Regions from separate parts of the Homo sapiens genome. Here region 2 is linked to region 1. The links are contacts of gene promoters, found by promoter capture Hi-C in human tissues and cell types (Jung and others, 2019). All regions are on one chromosome and are shown on one strand. Each heading gives the region's core, a stretch centred on a gene start or on the middle of the fragment in contact. The rest is flanking DNA. Distances are from core to core; before and after follow the strand shown. Region 1 holds the start of CDKN1C (cyclin dependent kinase inhibitor 1C). Region 2 holds the start of ZNF195 (zinc finger protein 195).

Region 1 (7,498 bases), core at 27-2,526:
AACAACGGGGCGGGGAGGGGGGTAAGGGCGCAGCCGCGCCCTGAGCGCTGCGGGCCCTTTAATGCCACGGGAGGAGGCGGGAACCCAGCGAGGCCCCCGAGGGCTGGGGGGACCGGCCGGCCGGACAAAGCGGGGCCGGGCCGGGCCGGGGCGGGGCCGTGCGGGGCTCACCGGAGATCAGAGGCCCGGACAGCTTCTTGATCGCCGCGCCGTTGGCGCTGGCGGCCGCGGTGCCGGCCGCGGGACGTCCCGAAATCCCCGAGTGCAGCTGGTCAGCGAGAGGCTCCTGGCCGCGCTGCCCCTGGTTCGCGCCCTGCTCGGCGCTCTCTTGAGGCGCCGCGTCCGGGGCCGGGGCCGGGGCGGGGGCCGGGGCCGGGGCCGGGGCCGGGGCTGGGGCCGGGGCCGCGACTGGAGCCGGGGCCGGAGCCGGAGCCGGAGCCGGGGCCGGGGCCGGGGCCAGGACCGCGACCGCGACCGGAGCCGCGACCGGAGCCGCGACCGGAGCCGGAGCCGGGGCCGGGGCTGGAGCCAGGACCGGGACTGGGGGCGGGGTGGACGCCGGGGCCGGGACCGGGACACTAGGCAGCTGCTCCGGCGCCTCCTCGAGGCCGTCGAGGGACTCAGCGGCCGGCTCGAGGGGCGGGCTGACAGCCACCGCGACCGCGACGGGCCGCGGCGCCAGCAGCAGGCGGCAGCGCCCCACCTGCACCGTCTCGCGGTAGAACGCGGGCACCGAGTCGCTGTCCACTTCGGTCCACTGCAGGCGTCCAGGGCCCCGCAGCGGCATGTCCTGCTGGAAGTCGTAATCCCAGCGGTTCTGGTCCTCGGCGTTCAGCTCGGCCAGGCGGGCCTGCAGCTCGCGGCTCAGCTCCTCGTGGTCCACCGGCCCGAAGAGGCTGCGGCAGGCGCTGGTGCGCACTAGTACTGGGAAGGTCCCACGGGCGACAAGACGCTCCATCGTGGATGTGCTGCGGAGGGACGCGTCGGACATGGCCCGGGGCTGCGCAAACGCGGGCAGCGAGAGAGGAGAGGACAGCGAGAAGAAGGGGAAAGGAGAGGAGGAGAGGGCGGAGGCCGGGCGCAAGGGAGACCCCGCGCCGCCCGACTCTGCGTGTGCGAGGGACGCGGCGGCTACCTGGCTGTCCGGTGGTGGACTCTTCTGCGTCGGGTTCGCCTGTCTCGTCCGGACGGCAGCCGCGCCCCCTCGATGCCTGCTGGCTAGCTCGCTCGCTCAGGCCTGGCCGGCACCCCTCGAGCACAGCGCACTTGGCCTGTGGAACGCCCAGCCCGCCTGCGCCCCCTTTATACGCGCGGGCCCCACCCCCGTGCGCGCGGGCCCGGCCGCGATTAGCATAATGTAGTATTTTCAGTTTCAACAACACCACGGCGATTGGCGGCCGCCCCGCTGCCCCGCCCCGCCGCGGCCCGGCCCCCGCGCACCGCCCATTGGCCGCGCGCACACCCACCGGGGGCGGGGCGGGGCGCGCGGCCGGGGCGCGCGGCTGATTGGCGGCCGCGGGGCGAGCGCGCTGTAGCAGGGGAAGGGGGCGGTGAGCGGGGCGGGGGCGGGAGTTAAAGGGCGCTGCGGGCGGTAACGTGACACCGCGACGCCCGCCCCCTCGCCCCATCCCCCCTGCAACACTCCCCCACCCCCCCGGCTCCCGCCCCCCGCCGGCTCCTTTGTCTGCAGGCGGGGGCCTCAGCCCAGCGCGGCAGGGGCCGGCTCCTGGCGGGTCCGGTGTCCGGCCAGGCCCAACTCGACCCCGGCCCGGTCCGGACCCCGGCGCCCAGCTCCGTCCCGCGCTCGCCCGTGGGCCTCCTGCGCCAGCTGACGAGGCTTGGACCCGCCGCTGCCAGCTCGGCCCTGGCCTGCGCCGGATGGGGTCTTCGGCTGCCCCCGCGCGGCCTGCTGCTGCTGGGCTGGTGTCCCTTCGAGGGCTCCGCGCGCCTGGAGCCCTCACACACCTGCTGGCCCTAAGGCCCTCGAGTCGGGAGGGGGGACAGGGGTCAGCTCCACTCTTTCCCCGAGGGACCATGTGTGGGACACCTTGAGAGACTCCCACCAGCCCCCTGGAGCTGGAGTCTGAAGCCGCTATCTGCGGAGGCCCACCCTGCCCAGTAGATGGAACAGGGGCTGAGCCCATCATGTCACTGTCGGGGGTCCCAGCCCTTCTCAGCCTTGGGCCAGACCACTCCAGCCCCGGGATCTGCCTGTCCAGGCTGGCTGGAAGCTGTTGTACTGGGTAAAAGTGAAAGATCTGCCCGAGGTCATAGGGGAAGGGGCTGTGAAGGACCATGCCCCTCCCCCGCCTGCAGCCCTTCCTGGTACAGACCTCGGTCGTGCGCGCACGCACACACACACACACACACACACGCACGCACACACACGGTGCTTCACCCCAGCCAGGCCAGACCAAAAGAGACCATTATTTCCTGCTGCCTCCCTTTTGGCCCACCTACCATGAGGCAGGGAGCCCCCTCCTCAAACCAGGAGCCTCCCAGATCGGGATGGGGACTGTCAGACACCTGTTGGAGGGTCCAGCAGCCCATGAGATCTAAGCCCCTATCTCAGGTGAGCCTGTGAGCCAGCAGAGAGACCTCTGGGAGGGAGGGAAGGTGCGGTCCCCTGAACCCCAACCAGCCTGCCTTTGAGTCCCAAGACACCCCCACCCCCATGGAATGCTGTGGCAGTGTGCAGCTGCAGCTGGGGGAGCAGGGCGGGTCTTCTGGGTCTCAGGGAAGCGAGATCTGAAGTGAGGGGGGTGAACTGGATGGGACAGGGCGTTAACCCAGGAGAGGGGCCAGGGCCATTCTTGGCTCTTGATGGTGGAACCAAAAGCCATGATTTATGTGCAATTTCATATTCTTCTCTGTGCACAATTTACAAATTTCCCGCAACAAGCCCAGATGTCACAATTTTCATCTTAGGAAAACAAAGAGAAGCTGAAGAAGGCTCCCCAGGCCCTGCGAACCCCTCAAGCAGGGCTCATATCAACTGGCCTGGGGGCAGAAAGAGGCAAAGTCTAGTCTGCTCCATGCCCCTATGCTGCCACCTCCCCAGAGACTAGGAGCAAAGGGCTAGAGTGGGTAGTGACCTAGAGGCCCCCGGATACCCACACTCCAACCATCAGGACTCATTGGCCTTGGTGACACCACTCAGAGGGTGTAGCTGCCATCATCCTGTGTTATAGAAGAGCAGCAGAGACCGCGTCAGCCGCTGAGGCCGCACAGCTGGAAGGAAGCAGGGCTCAGAACTCCCGGGCTGCCTGGCTTTCTGGTTTGGTTTCCACTTAGGTTTCCTACTTTTATTTTTCCACTTTACCAGCTTAATTACAGAGTCAAACCCAGTGCTGTGGGGATTCCTCCGTCTTGGCCTCGTTAGAAGCTGAGAGGTGACCTGCTCTAAGTCTGTCACTCTGAATTCGATCAAAGATGGTACCCAATAGCATTTTAAACCTGCACGTCCCAGGAGCGGGGCTGTGTCCCCCCAGCCCAAGCCAGGGACACACCTGGAGGAAGGCACCCCAGGAGCTGGGGGCTGGGAGTTCCAGGCTCTGAGAGGAGGCCCAATGGGCCCAGAAGCAAGCAAACATCTGTCTAGGTGCAACAATCAAGCTCTATTTTTGTAATTAAAAATGTATCCAAAGGGAAAAAAGAAACAAAAGGAACAATATTTGTACTCTATGTTGCTGCAGAGAGCAGAACTGCGGAGGGGGTGCTAGTCCCAAGGGGTGGACTGTGCTGTGCTAGTGCCCTAAATCCTGCAAGCGCGGGGTTGGGGGGGCGGGGGAGACCGCTGTCGGGGGTCGTGAGTTCCGGGCCCTTGTGTGCATGTTCACGTCCTGTCATTCTTGCCCCCAGCTGAGAGAGCAGTAGAGGAAAGGCACTACATCCACCAGCCTTTGCATTCTCCTCGGAGCACACAGAAAGACATTTTCCAGTTATCTTGCACACAAGTGGGCGGCGGGACCCGTTTTGGCCGGGAACGTTGTCAGGAACGCTGTACACCACTTCCAGGCGGTCACGTCCGAGCTGCCCAGGCAGTCCTTCTGCGCCCTCTGCTGGCCAGATGGAGGCTGCAGACCCTGCGGGGCCATCAGGAGAGAACCACCAAGCACCCTCTGCACACCGCATTGCCTGTGTTGGGCACAAAGAATAAACTTTTATTGCATCTTAACCCACTAGAAATGTAGGCTTGTCCATCACAGTGGGGCGTTACATACCCTAATACATAGGGAAGGCATAGGTAGATTTCAGTTGGCCTTTTACAGACAAGGAAACCAAGGCTTGAGAAGATTCAAACCTTACTGCAGCCATGGCTCACACCTATATACCCTCAGTACTTTGGGAGACCAAGGCAGGTGGCTCGCTTGAGCCCAGGAGTTCCAGACAAGCCTGGGCAACATAGAGAAACCCCATCTCTACGAATATTTTTTAAATTAGCTGGGTGTGGTGGCACGTGTCTGTGGTCCCAGCTACTCGGGAGGCTGAGGTGGGAGGATTGCTTGAGCCCAGGAGGTTGAGGCTATAGTGAGCCGTGATCGTGCCACTACCTCTAGCCTGGACGACAGAGCAAGACGCCCTCTAAAAAAAAAAAAGAAGAAGAAGAAGAAGAAAGAAGAAGAAGAAAAAGAAAAACTTGCTGCCCAAGCAGTTAAGGCAGGATTAACCTGCAGCCCTCACTGCTGTGCGTTCCTTCTAGGAAAGACCCAGAAGCCAGAGAAGCCTAGGTCCCAATCCTGGTGGATCTTCGTGCTGGAATCGTTAAGCCAGCTGTTTCCCAGGGGCCACCCATGGGCCAGTCCTCACCACAACCTCATGGGTGGTCGGTCAATGTCGTAGGCCCGCTTTACAGCCGAGGAGACAGAGGCTTCCAGAGGCAAACACACTGGTCCATGAGTAGCAGAACGAGGGTAGGCCCAGGAAGCCATGTCCTTGGCCACATGTGCTTTCTGGCGGGTGACCTCCACTCCAGTGCCTCCCCGGCTGCCCGAGGCCTCCCCTTCCCGGGTGTGGCAGCTGTACAGCTGCCTTGTCGGCATGTTCATGGCCCCATCAGGAATGTGTGCCGCAGGTGGCTTCACAGGGCTAGGAATGCCCGTCCTAGGTTAGGCCCAATCCCTACCCAGAGCCCCAGGGAACCCAAATTCTGGGACACAGGACACCCGGCCAGTGGGCCAATGGCCCCTATCAGGGAGTGACCAAGGACAGGCCGGGAGCTCTTCTTTCCCCTCTGACCCATGGTGAAACCTGCCTCGGGCCTGTTCCCTGGGTTCTGAGGCCCTGAGCTATCTGTCTTCAAACAAACGAAGGCCTCAAAGAATGTTCCATTGAGCCATGGGCCCCATATCACCCATCAATCACAAAGGGCTGGGGATTGCAGGCACAGGGTCAAGGTGGGTAGGAGGTGAGGGCTGGACACCATCTGAATCTGTGCTGTTCCAGGGCCCACTAGAGAGTCTCCAGGTACCCGGAGCCTGCCCTCAGCAGTACCACCCTCCCACAGCACCCCAGGGACCCTGCAAGAGGTGTCTGTGCCCTTCCCGGCTGCCTCCCCAGCTGCTCCCCAGGTGGTGCCCTGTGGAGAGGACCAGAGGGATATTATAAACAATGACAACACTTGCTGCCTTCATCTTGTGCCTGCTCAGGGCCCTGCCCTAACCCAGGGCTGGGCTCGTTGCCTCATTTAATCCTTCCAAGACCCCTGAGAGGGAGGTGTGTTCGTGCCCATTTTGCAAGGGAGGGGACTCAGGCTCCCAGAGGTTAAGCCACCTGCCTGAGGTCACTGAGACTTGAGGTTGGCCCTGCCTTTCACCCAGCCTGAGCCCCTCCATAGGACTTCTGTGAGGGCACAAGAAAGCAGGAAAAGAAAGAAGTCAAGGGCCCTGGGAATCTCCCCTGACATCTCCCACCCCAAGCCCTAGAGCCAGGGCTGGGCATCTGTGCAGGGTACAACCCTGCCCAGGGATGCCTGACTCTGGAAAGGCCACCCCTTTGGCCTCAAACCACATCACCCAGCAGCAGGTCCTCAGACCAGCCCTGGACAGGAGCTTGACTGGCTGTGCCCCCAAAGGCCCCAGAGCTCCCTGCCCCCACTGAGCCTCCACCTTCCCATCCATAAGATGGGGTGGGGAGTCATCCAGCCCAGAGGCCCCAGGGGCATGGGGAGTGACAGATTAACCCAAGGCCCCCCCTCCCGCAACAGGCGGCTCAGCACACACTTGGCGGGGGGCCATGCTGGGCCAGGAGAGCTCCCCCGCACCAGTTCCCCGCGCGCAAGGCTCGCCCCGCCCCCCAGGACAGGCTGTTCTTGGGGCGGCTGCCAGGCACGTCCTCCGCAGGTGCCGGCCTCCCTGCGGTGACGTGGCCACATGCGGCACAAGCTCCGATTACAGGGACTGCCTTGTGCTGGGGGTTCCGGCCAGGGGTCCTCACTCCCCAGGAACCGATGGGCGGAGCTGGGCAGGCCCTGAGGAGAGGCCCAGTGGGAATAGGGAACAGTCACCCCTGCTCCAGAACGGGACCAGGGGCTGCTTCCCTTGGGGTCTGGAAGAGAGGGACCCCCTGGTCCCAGCCTGCCTGAGACTGCTGGTTTCGGCACTGAATGTTCCAGGAAACCGAGGGCCACTGGTCATCGTGGGCTTCACACGGCGCCTTTCTGGGCTAGGAAGGGGGCTCCCGGGCTAGGAAGCAGGTACCGAGGAGGGTCTCAAGGACATGTGGGGACCTATGTCAGACACCCCTGCAGCCAGCTCTGAGCCCACCAGGCCTTTCCTCCTCTCCCTGCCAATCCACAGGACACAGACACAGGGGTCCCAGGCCCAGTGGCTCACTTTATCAGGGAAACAGCAGGAAAAACAAATCTGGTGTGAGCAGATCTCCCTTCCCACCAAGCCCCCTGACTTCCTGCTGGAGCTCGGGGAGACCCCTGTGACCAGCATCTCCTGCCTACGGGGGGCGCCAGGGCCTCAAAGCCTCTCCAAGCCACTCCCTCCCACCCTGCTTTCCACACCCAAGCCACAGCGTTCAGAGAAGCTCAGGGCCTATTTGAAATGCCAGAGAGTGGGGATGCCTCCAGAGAGGTGGCATGAGGGCCCCCAGATGCACCCCACCACTCCCTCCTCCACTGCAGGAGGAGGGGCCTGCAGTTACTGAGGAAGCCTCACCCCTACTGGGCCCTCGGGGGTGAAGGGGCTTCCCAGGCCTTGAGGGAGACTGTATTTCAGATGTCAGTTAAAAGCGCCTGCTACATGGCGTGACCTCTCTGAATCCTATTACTTTCCTGTGCAGGAAACTGAGGCCCAGAGAGGTGGAGTGACCGGCCTAGGGTCCCCCAGCAAGTCAGAGACAGTGAAGCCACCTCCTGCCCTGGGCTGGGGTCCCGCCCCACTGACCTCCAGGGTCAGAGAAGGAGGGGAGCCCCCAACACTTAACTCCTTCCTTCTTTCCTTCATTCCTTCCTCCCTCCCATTCTCCACCTCCTCCTGGCTGAGCTTTG
Region 2 (7,825 bases), core at 1,544-4,043, 490 kb after region 1:
AAAAAGTCTCATAATGTTTTAATAAAGTTTACGAATTTGTGTTGGACCACATTCAAAGCCCAGGCCAGCATGTGGCCCAGGCCTGTGGGTTGGACAAGCTTGAGCCAGGCCTTCGATTGCTTTCTTTTGCAGACTCAGTATTAGCCTTAGCTTGGAATGACTGTTCTTGGGCTTCAACTTCCCAATCAGGGTTATCCACTTAGGTTTAAATAAGAAAATACCCAGTGTTGGAAACATCCAACAAAATCACTGAAACAGTTTACAGAAGAAAAGGAAACTGTAAGCACTTACACTTTCACCTCCACAGAAAAAGCAAAATTATTTATTGCTTTCAGACAATGAACTTGTCATTTAACTATTTCCATAACAAATCATATAGTAAACAATCACATGTGAACACTTTTAGAAGTGCTAAGTTCCATCTCCTACAACTTAGCATTAAGCTCAGACATCTAGAGAACAGGATATAAAACAGAGATACTCATGACAACAAATTCATCCTGCAAAAAGAGCTCATGTTCTGATGAATCTATGCAATTTACCAAGTAATCTACCATAATTTTTTTGTAGAAAATGTAAACATTCTCCACAGCCATCCAAGAAGCATTTTATGTTCCCTGGTAGCATTCCCAAAGCTAAGCCCTGGGATTCTGTTGGAAATCATCTTCCACAAAAGAACAGACCTAAGTAACTTTCTACCCTTAATCACTCTGGAGAAGAAAAAGGTATGTATGACTAGATATTTAACTTTTTTCCTGAAATTGACCTATTTCATGTCCTTTGTAAGTATTTTCTTACCTTTCAAGCTCTACTGATAAAATGTAAATTTACAATTAAAAATCCAACATTGCAGTAAGTGAATAAATTATTTCAAGGAGACACAGAGAGTGGCAGTGCCGACTGGAACACAGACACAGCTAATGACTTGTGTCAAGTCAGGCTATTCTATTCCTTGGGAGATTCTCCCACCTCCATCCTGTTCACCGAAGTGCTCACCGGCCACCCCCGATGATACACTGCACTGTGCCCCGCTGAGTGTCCCAGGTGAATTTTGCTTTACAGGTTTTGCACCATCTCACGGGGTGGAGTTTTTCTTGCTCTTTGAAACATTCTGTCTCCCTTCACAAATCTGAGAGTCCAAAGGGCAGAAATGATTTCGGTCTTTTCCCTCTGACAGGGGCATGTGATTGGCTGATCAGCCATGTGTCTCCAGGGATTGAAAGTTGGGTTGGGTGAAGACAATCTTAATGTCCTAAGTGGTTACCTCTTTAGAGGAAGAGTAGACCAGGAGATTTCTCTCAGCCCAGGGCATCCAGCTGCTCCCTGGAGAGGCCACACTTCATACCTCAGGCTGTCCTCTGAGAAATAACCCAGGGCCTGAAATTCACTAGATGCTCCAGCAGACATGGCCATGGTGGGCATCCTGTGTTATCCCTGGACAATACTGAAACTGAGGAAAAAGTCCAGAGGGTGGCTGAGAGCAAATCACCCTGTCAAGTTTCCAAAGTGGAACCTCAAACCAAAGACATTCTGGTAAGGTGTCTGTGCCTAGGGAAAATAAAAAGGAGGAGAGGCACAAAGACTTTTTACAATAGCGTCAGGGGATGATTCTCTGCTTTCCTGTCACGTGGAATGATTACAAACAGAAAACAAATCTCTTAAAAAGTGCCGTCCAGGCTGGGCGCAGTGGCTCACGACTGTAATCCCAGCACTTTGGGAGGCCAAGGCAGGCGGATCACATGAGGTCAGGAGTTCAAGACCAGCCTGGCCAACATGGTGAAACCCCGTCTCTACTAAAAATACAAAAATTAGCCGGGCGTGGTGGTGCAGGACTGTAATCTCAGCTACTCGGGAGGCTGAGGCAGGAGAATTGATTGAACCCGGGAGGCAGAGGTTGCAGTGAGCCGAGATCGCGCCACTGCACTCCAGCCTGGGGGACAGAGCGAGACTCCATCTCAAAAATAATAATAATTAAATAGCAGGCAATCCGACTGAGGTGGCTCTAGTGCCCTGGGTTCTTAGGTTAAAAAAAAAAATCTAACTCAGATGCGTTTCTTGCAAATGACTATCTTGCAGAAACAAAATTCAGGCTTCGTCAACCACAAACCTCTAATTAACTTCTGATTACAGGACCAGAAAATTTCAGCCTAGATAGCTGAAATCAGGAGATGACGTAACTGTACCGAACTAATGAATGAATGTGGTTTGCTTCCTCATGCACCTGATAAAAGCCTTTCCTTCAAGGCCGGCTGGTGGGACCTCCAAACCCAAAAAACATGGTTGGGTCCTCTGCCATTCATGAATCGCTCTTTGCTCAAATAAAACTCTTTCACATTTTTGCAAGGACTCCCTCGAGAGAAAGGAGGGACTGGGGCCCCCACGGGCTACAGATCATCCTCTTATGCACAAACCACCCACGGAGTCGGGATTCTCCCTTCCTGACTCGGGGAGACGAGGGTCTGCGGGCGAAGAGCTGCCGGGGGGACATGGCTCTGGGCTTGGGCCAAAGCCGCTCTGCAGGGATGCGCCGGGGCGCGCGGGGCCCGGCCGCCATGGTGCAGCTGGAGGGGCCTCGGGTCCGCGGAGCCCGGAACCCACCCGGGCAGCCCGGTTCCTCCCGAGCCGGTACCGCGGGTTCCAGTCCGCCCCTCCCTGTCTCTCAGGAGGCCTGGCCCCTACACTCACCATCTCCTGGCCTCCAGAGAGCCTGGCGTTTCACTTCTGGATCTCCCGGTGCCTGCGGGTCACACGACCTACGGCTAGCAGGGGACACAGAGCCGCGGGGACAGGAAGTGGAGCTCTGTCGGGACAAAGGCCCCGCTAGATCCCGGAAGCCGTCCTCTCCTCTCCAGACATGTGCCTGATTGGACAGTCCCCGCCCCTACTCCTCTGATTGGATAGGGCATCACGCCCCGCCCCCTCAGGCCCTGAGTGACAGGAGCTGTAATCAGACAATGGGCCGAATGAGACAGCAAGGACAGGTGCTGGCCGCGATCTTTTGGAGCGGGGCTTCCTGCCTGCGCTGTCCGGCCCCACCTAGAGGATATTTACATTTCATCTTGTGACTGCGGTTATGTTTATTTATAAATAATAAATATATGTTATTCACCAATGGAAAGAAGAAAATAAAGACAATCATTTTGAATTTTTATATTTTATGGCCTTCCTGGCTTTTGGTCCTTTGAACAGACAGCCTGAAATTTCAAAAAGGATTCAAGCCTCTAAGAATTAAAATGTAAGCCATGTGTGAATCTTAAATTTTCTAGTAGCCACGTTTTAAAATGTACTAAGAAACAGGTGAAGTTGATTGTAATAATTTAACCCAGTATGTAACCATTTTCCTCTATGGTCAATATACAATTGGTAAGGAAGTATATATTTTGGGGTACTAAATCTTTGAAGCTCACTCTGTATTTTACCTTTTCAGCACATTTCAGTTCAGACCAGCTGTATTCCTGTTATTCAATAGCCACACATGATCAATAGCTGCCACACTAAAGTGCAGCTCTGAGGTCTAACCTCCCTTATGTCAGGAAGTGGAGGGTCTGAAAGTCCCTTTTCAGCCAGAGGTGAGGGAACAGCCTCTTGCTACAAACATCTCTCCTCCGGTCGAAGGGTGGACGAGATGGTGATCCTAGAGAGCATAGGGGAAAGCAAAAGAAAATATCCACGGGTAGAGGACTGCTGCCCATCAATAATGGGGCCCTAAGAGGAGAGAACACATCTTCAGATCTGTCCATAGCCTTGACCTCCAACATTTAGATATGGAGGAAATAGACTAGAGGCAGACTTATCTTGCTATTTGGCCTTAGCCCTAATGATCAAGCTGTGATTGTCTGTTTCTTCCCGTGGTTGGGGGGCTGTGTGAGTAAAAGCACCAATCACATATATACATGTGTACATGCATTTCTGTATGACGGAACATTATCTTACAAAAGATCCAACTTTAAATAAGGGGGGAGAATTAGTACCTATAAAGTGCTTTCTTCTTGCAGGTAACTAGGAATCAACCTTTCATTGAATCCTGGCACCCTATCTGCCCTGGGTGCATGTATTAGTTAGCTATTGCATAACAAATCACCGAAAACTTAATAGCTCATGATTGAGTTCATCAGCCATTCACGCTGAACTCAACTGAGCTATTCTTGTCACAACTGGACTGCTTCATGTATGTATGGCCAGCTGCTGGTTGACTAGGTGGCTCTGCTTCTGGGGATGAGATGGCTATCAACAGTGGCACCTTCCTTCTCCCCACCATGGTATGTCATCCTCCAGCTGGCTAATCTCATAAAGATAGCAAGGTTCTGATAGCTTGATCTCATAAAGATAGCAAGGTTCTGAGAAACACAGAAGCATTTAAGACCTTTTGAGCCTAGGCCCAAAACTAGCACAAAAGCTGTCATATTCGCAGTTGATACGGTCTGGCTGTGTCCCCAGCCAAATCTCAACTTGAATTGTATCTCCCAGAATTCCCGTGTGTTGTGGGAGGGACCGGGGAAGGGGGTAATTGAGTCATGTGGGCGGGTCTTTCTCATGCTATTCTCATGTTAGTGAATAAGTCTCACGAGATCTGATGGGTTTATCAGGGGTTTCCACTTTTGCTTTCTCCTCATTTTTCTCTTGCCGCCACCACGAAAGAAGTGCCTTTTGCCTCCCGTCATGATTCTGAGGCCTCCCCAGCCATGTGGAACTGTAAGTCCAATTAAACCTCTTTTTGTTCGCATGTTCAGGAATGTCTTTATCAGCAGTGTGAAAACAAACTAATACAACAGTTTTCTATAGCCAGAGAAAATAGTGCCAGCCAGATGCAAAGTTTGGGAAACACATTCGGCCTCTTGATGGGAGGAGCTGTAAGAGCACACAATAAAGAGCATAGATACAGAGAGTAATGAAGCATTGCTGCTGTTTCTGCAATCAGTATTATTCTACCCTTTCTTGCAGAAGAGGTTTATATTACTGCTCCAAGTCAAGAACCTTGCCCAAAGTCCCACAGCTGCTAAGCAGCTGGGCTGGTACTCAGGATCAGCTCTGCCTGGCTCTGCAGCCCTTACTCCTGCATAGACTGCACTGCTCATACAGCTTTCCAAGGCCTGCAAGTTTCTGGAGAGTAACTCTTCTGCAATAGAGGCAGAATTCCTTTTAGATTTGGACCCATATGGTGCTGTTTACCATTGGGAATAATCAATCACCTCGAGAAATTGCAGAAGCTTCTTGGAAGGACATGGAATAATTTGAGGGAAATGGCTGATAGATGACTTTAGGAAATCAGAGCCCAACAACAGAGGAGCAATTTTAAAACAGAATGTATCCTATATGTCTGTAAATGCTTTCATTCCTTTTTGGTATTTGTAGGCTGTTCATAATTTTCAACACTGACTATAAGTACTGTGACTGAAACAACCTCTTACTCTGAAATCAAGTGACTTAAAGATACATCTGCTGAGAAGACTTTTTTTCTGCAGCAATTTATCCGAACAGCTAAGTACATCTTGGAGGTGTCCGTTGATTTTTAATAAGGAAGAGCTATTTTTCAAGCTCCTATGTGGCAAATCCCATCAGTATGCATGGAAACCAGCTACAGTGAATGCATTCTTTACCCTGAATCAATTGTTCTCACCCCTGCTACATGTAAAATCACCTGGGGGGATGGCATTTAGAATTTCCCAAACCCAAGCTGCCACCGACCAGTAAAATGAGAATCACTGGAGTGGGGCCTGGGCAACATTGTGGCTTAAAGGTCTCCGGGGGATTAGAGTGTGGGCCAGACCCCAAACCACTGCTTTTTTTTTTTTTTTTTTTACTTTTACGTTCAGGGACACAGGTGCAGATTTGTTATATTGGTAAACTCACATCATGGGGGTTTGTTGTACAGATTATTTCATACCCAGGTATTTGTTTTCTGCTATATCCCCAAGACCATGAATCATATCTGGCACATAATAAGCATTTCCTAATATTTGTTCAAAAAGGATTTGGCAGTCTTGGGGGGCAGAAGGGGGGGTGGGGAAAATTTTTAAATAACACAATTTTTTTAAAAGGCACAATGTTCTACAACGTCAAATTCTCTTGTATATTCAGGAAAGTTGAGGGTTTTTTCTAAAACATGCTGACATAATGGGAAATAAGATGCAAAATTTGCATGAATGTTTAAGACAAAGTCTGAGGTTTCCAAGAGATGTTGTGCTGGGGAGGCTGTGTGCTACAAGCTCGCAAAGCTCTGGGAGGACAAAGCATTCATCCTCCCTAGCAGAGGCCGTGAGGTGAGAAGCTCGGTGGAGCCCCCAAGCTTTGGACTTTTAATATAGAGTGTTCAGGTCCTTATAGTTAGGGCTCATGGCACAAGCAGGTCACAGGTCTCTGGCTCCTCTGACCTTTACCCTCCTTCCCAAGGGAAAATGTGACTCTCCAAAGCAAGAAACTTGAGGGCGTGGTTCACCCCAGCCCTGGCATCTGCCCAGAGCCTGAGAAGGAAGGAACAATGATCCTCCAGCTACCTCACAGGGCTGGCACAGGGGGTCACTGCCTTGTGGATTGCCCAGCTGTGTCGGGCAACCTGGACCCTATCTGTGGGGATGTAAAGAGGAAAATACAAAAGTCTCCATGAGGGCACTGGGAAGATAGAGGCAGGAGAAACCTCCAGGCCTTCACTACCCAGCCTTGGACCCATGGTGGAAAGATAACATAGTTGGTGATCTTGTGTGCTTACACTCCAGGTGGCACTGTGGCCTCGTTGTGGCTCTGAAAATGAAGATTTGGAAGGAGTTCATCACAGCTAATGTTTAACAAGACCCTACTGTATGCCAAATCATTCACCCCTTGCAACAACTTAATAAGCTAGGGATTCGTATTAGATATATTTTACAGAAAAGGAAACAGAGACATAAAGAGGTGAATGAACTTGCCCAGATGGCACAGCTAATAAGTGGTGGAGGCAGAACAGAATCTACACAGTGTGGCTCTGGAGCCCACATTCATTGATTCCGCAAGTGTTTATTGAGCACCTGCCATGTACAAGGTCTGTGCGATTAAATAGGGCTATAATTAATAATATAAGCATTATAAACCACTAGCACTTTTTAGAGTTAACATTTTCTTTTTTTTTTTTGCAGGTTTGAGGCACAGAGCTGTATATACAATAACAGTGAAATTGATCCCACTACTAATTATGACAAAAATGATCTTCCACGTAAACAGGTTAGATGTTTTCTAGGTATTATCTCATGAAATCTTGACAGAAACTGAATGAGGAGGGGGCCGGGTGCAGTGGCTCACGCCTGTAATCCCAGCACTTTGGGAGGCCGAGGCGGGGGGATCATGAGGTCAGGAGATCGAGACCATCCTGGCCAACATGGTGAAACCCCGTCTCTACTAAAAATACAAAAAAATATTAGCCAGGCGTGGTGGTGGGTGCCTGTAGTCCCAGCTACTTGGGAGGCTGAGGCAGGAGAATGGCGTCAACCCGGGAGGTGGAGCTTGCAGTGAGCCGAGATTGCGCTACTGCACTCCAGCCTGGGTGACAGAGCGAGACTCCACCTCCAAAAAAAAAAAAAGAAAATGAGGAGGGAAAGTTGATTGTTCTGATTTCACACAGAAGGAAATTGAGGTTAGGAGGGGTAAAGTAATTTTGCATGGCATGAAGTAGAAATTCGAAGTGTAGGGATTTGAACTTGGTCCTGCCCTTTTCTGAAGCCCCCATGCTCTTGACCACTGTGGACTCAAACCTCACCTTGTTTCTCCACTCATTCAACAAATAGATTTGTTTAAATTATCAAATAGGTTGCCACTCATCATGAGCCTCTGTTCCCATTCTACAGGTGGTGAAGCT

Evidence for each region. The method cuts DNA at HindIII sites, captures the fragments that hold promoters and counts their contacts. A contact is called where the count stands out against the background at its distance.
Region 2: the fragment with the promoter of ZNF195 here is called in contact with the fragment with the promoter of CDKN1C in region 1 in 1 of the 25 tissues and cell types used here (IMR-90 fibroblasts).

Annotation. Positions count from the first base shown.
Region 1 is chr11:2,884,499-2,891,996 of GRCh38, forward strand. It overlaps CDKN1C (cyclin dependent kinase inhibitor 1C), which reads right to left and starts at 1,277. Exons shown (of 4, transcript NM_001122630.2): 1 at 1,136-1,277; 2 at 172-968. The coding sequence starts at 958. SLC67A1-AS (SLC67A1 antisense RNA) reads right to left here. Exons shown (of 3, transcript NR_169305.1): 3 at 2,846-4,137. RefSeq lists enhancers at 267-1,102, 1,103-1,938, 1,939-2,774, 7,337-7,498. The HindIII fragment of the contact is 9,348 bases long and covers 1-3,977 here.
Region 2 is chr11:3,376,353-3,384,177 of GRCh38, forward strand. ZNF195 (zinc finger protein 195) reads right to left here and starts at 2,794. Exons shown (of 6, transcript NM_001130520.3): 1 at 2,686-2,794. The coding sequence starts at 2,688. It also overlaps the pseudogene TSSC2. RefSeq lists enhancers at 2,495-3,058, 2,747-3,041 and a silencer at 2,500-2,569. The HindIII fragment of the contact is 6,782 bases long and covers 1-5,746 here.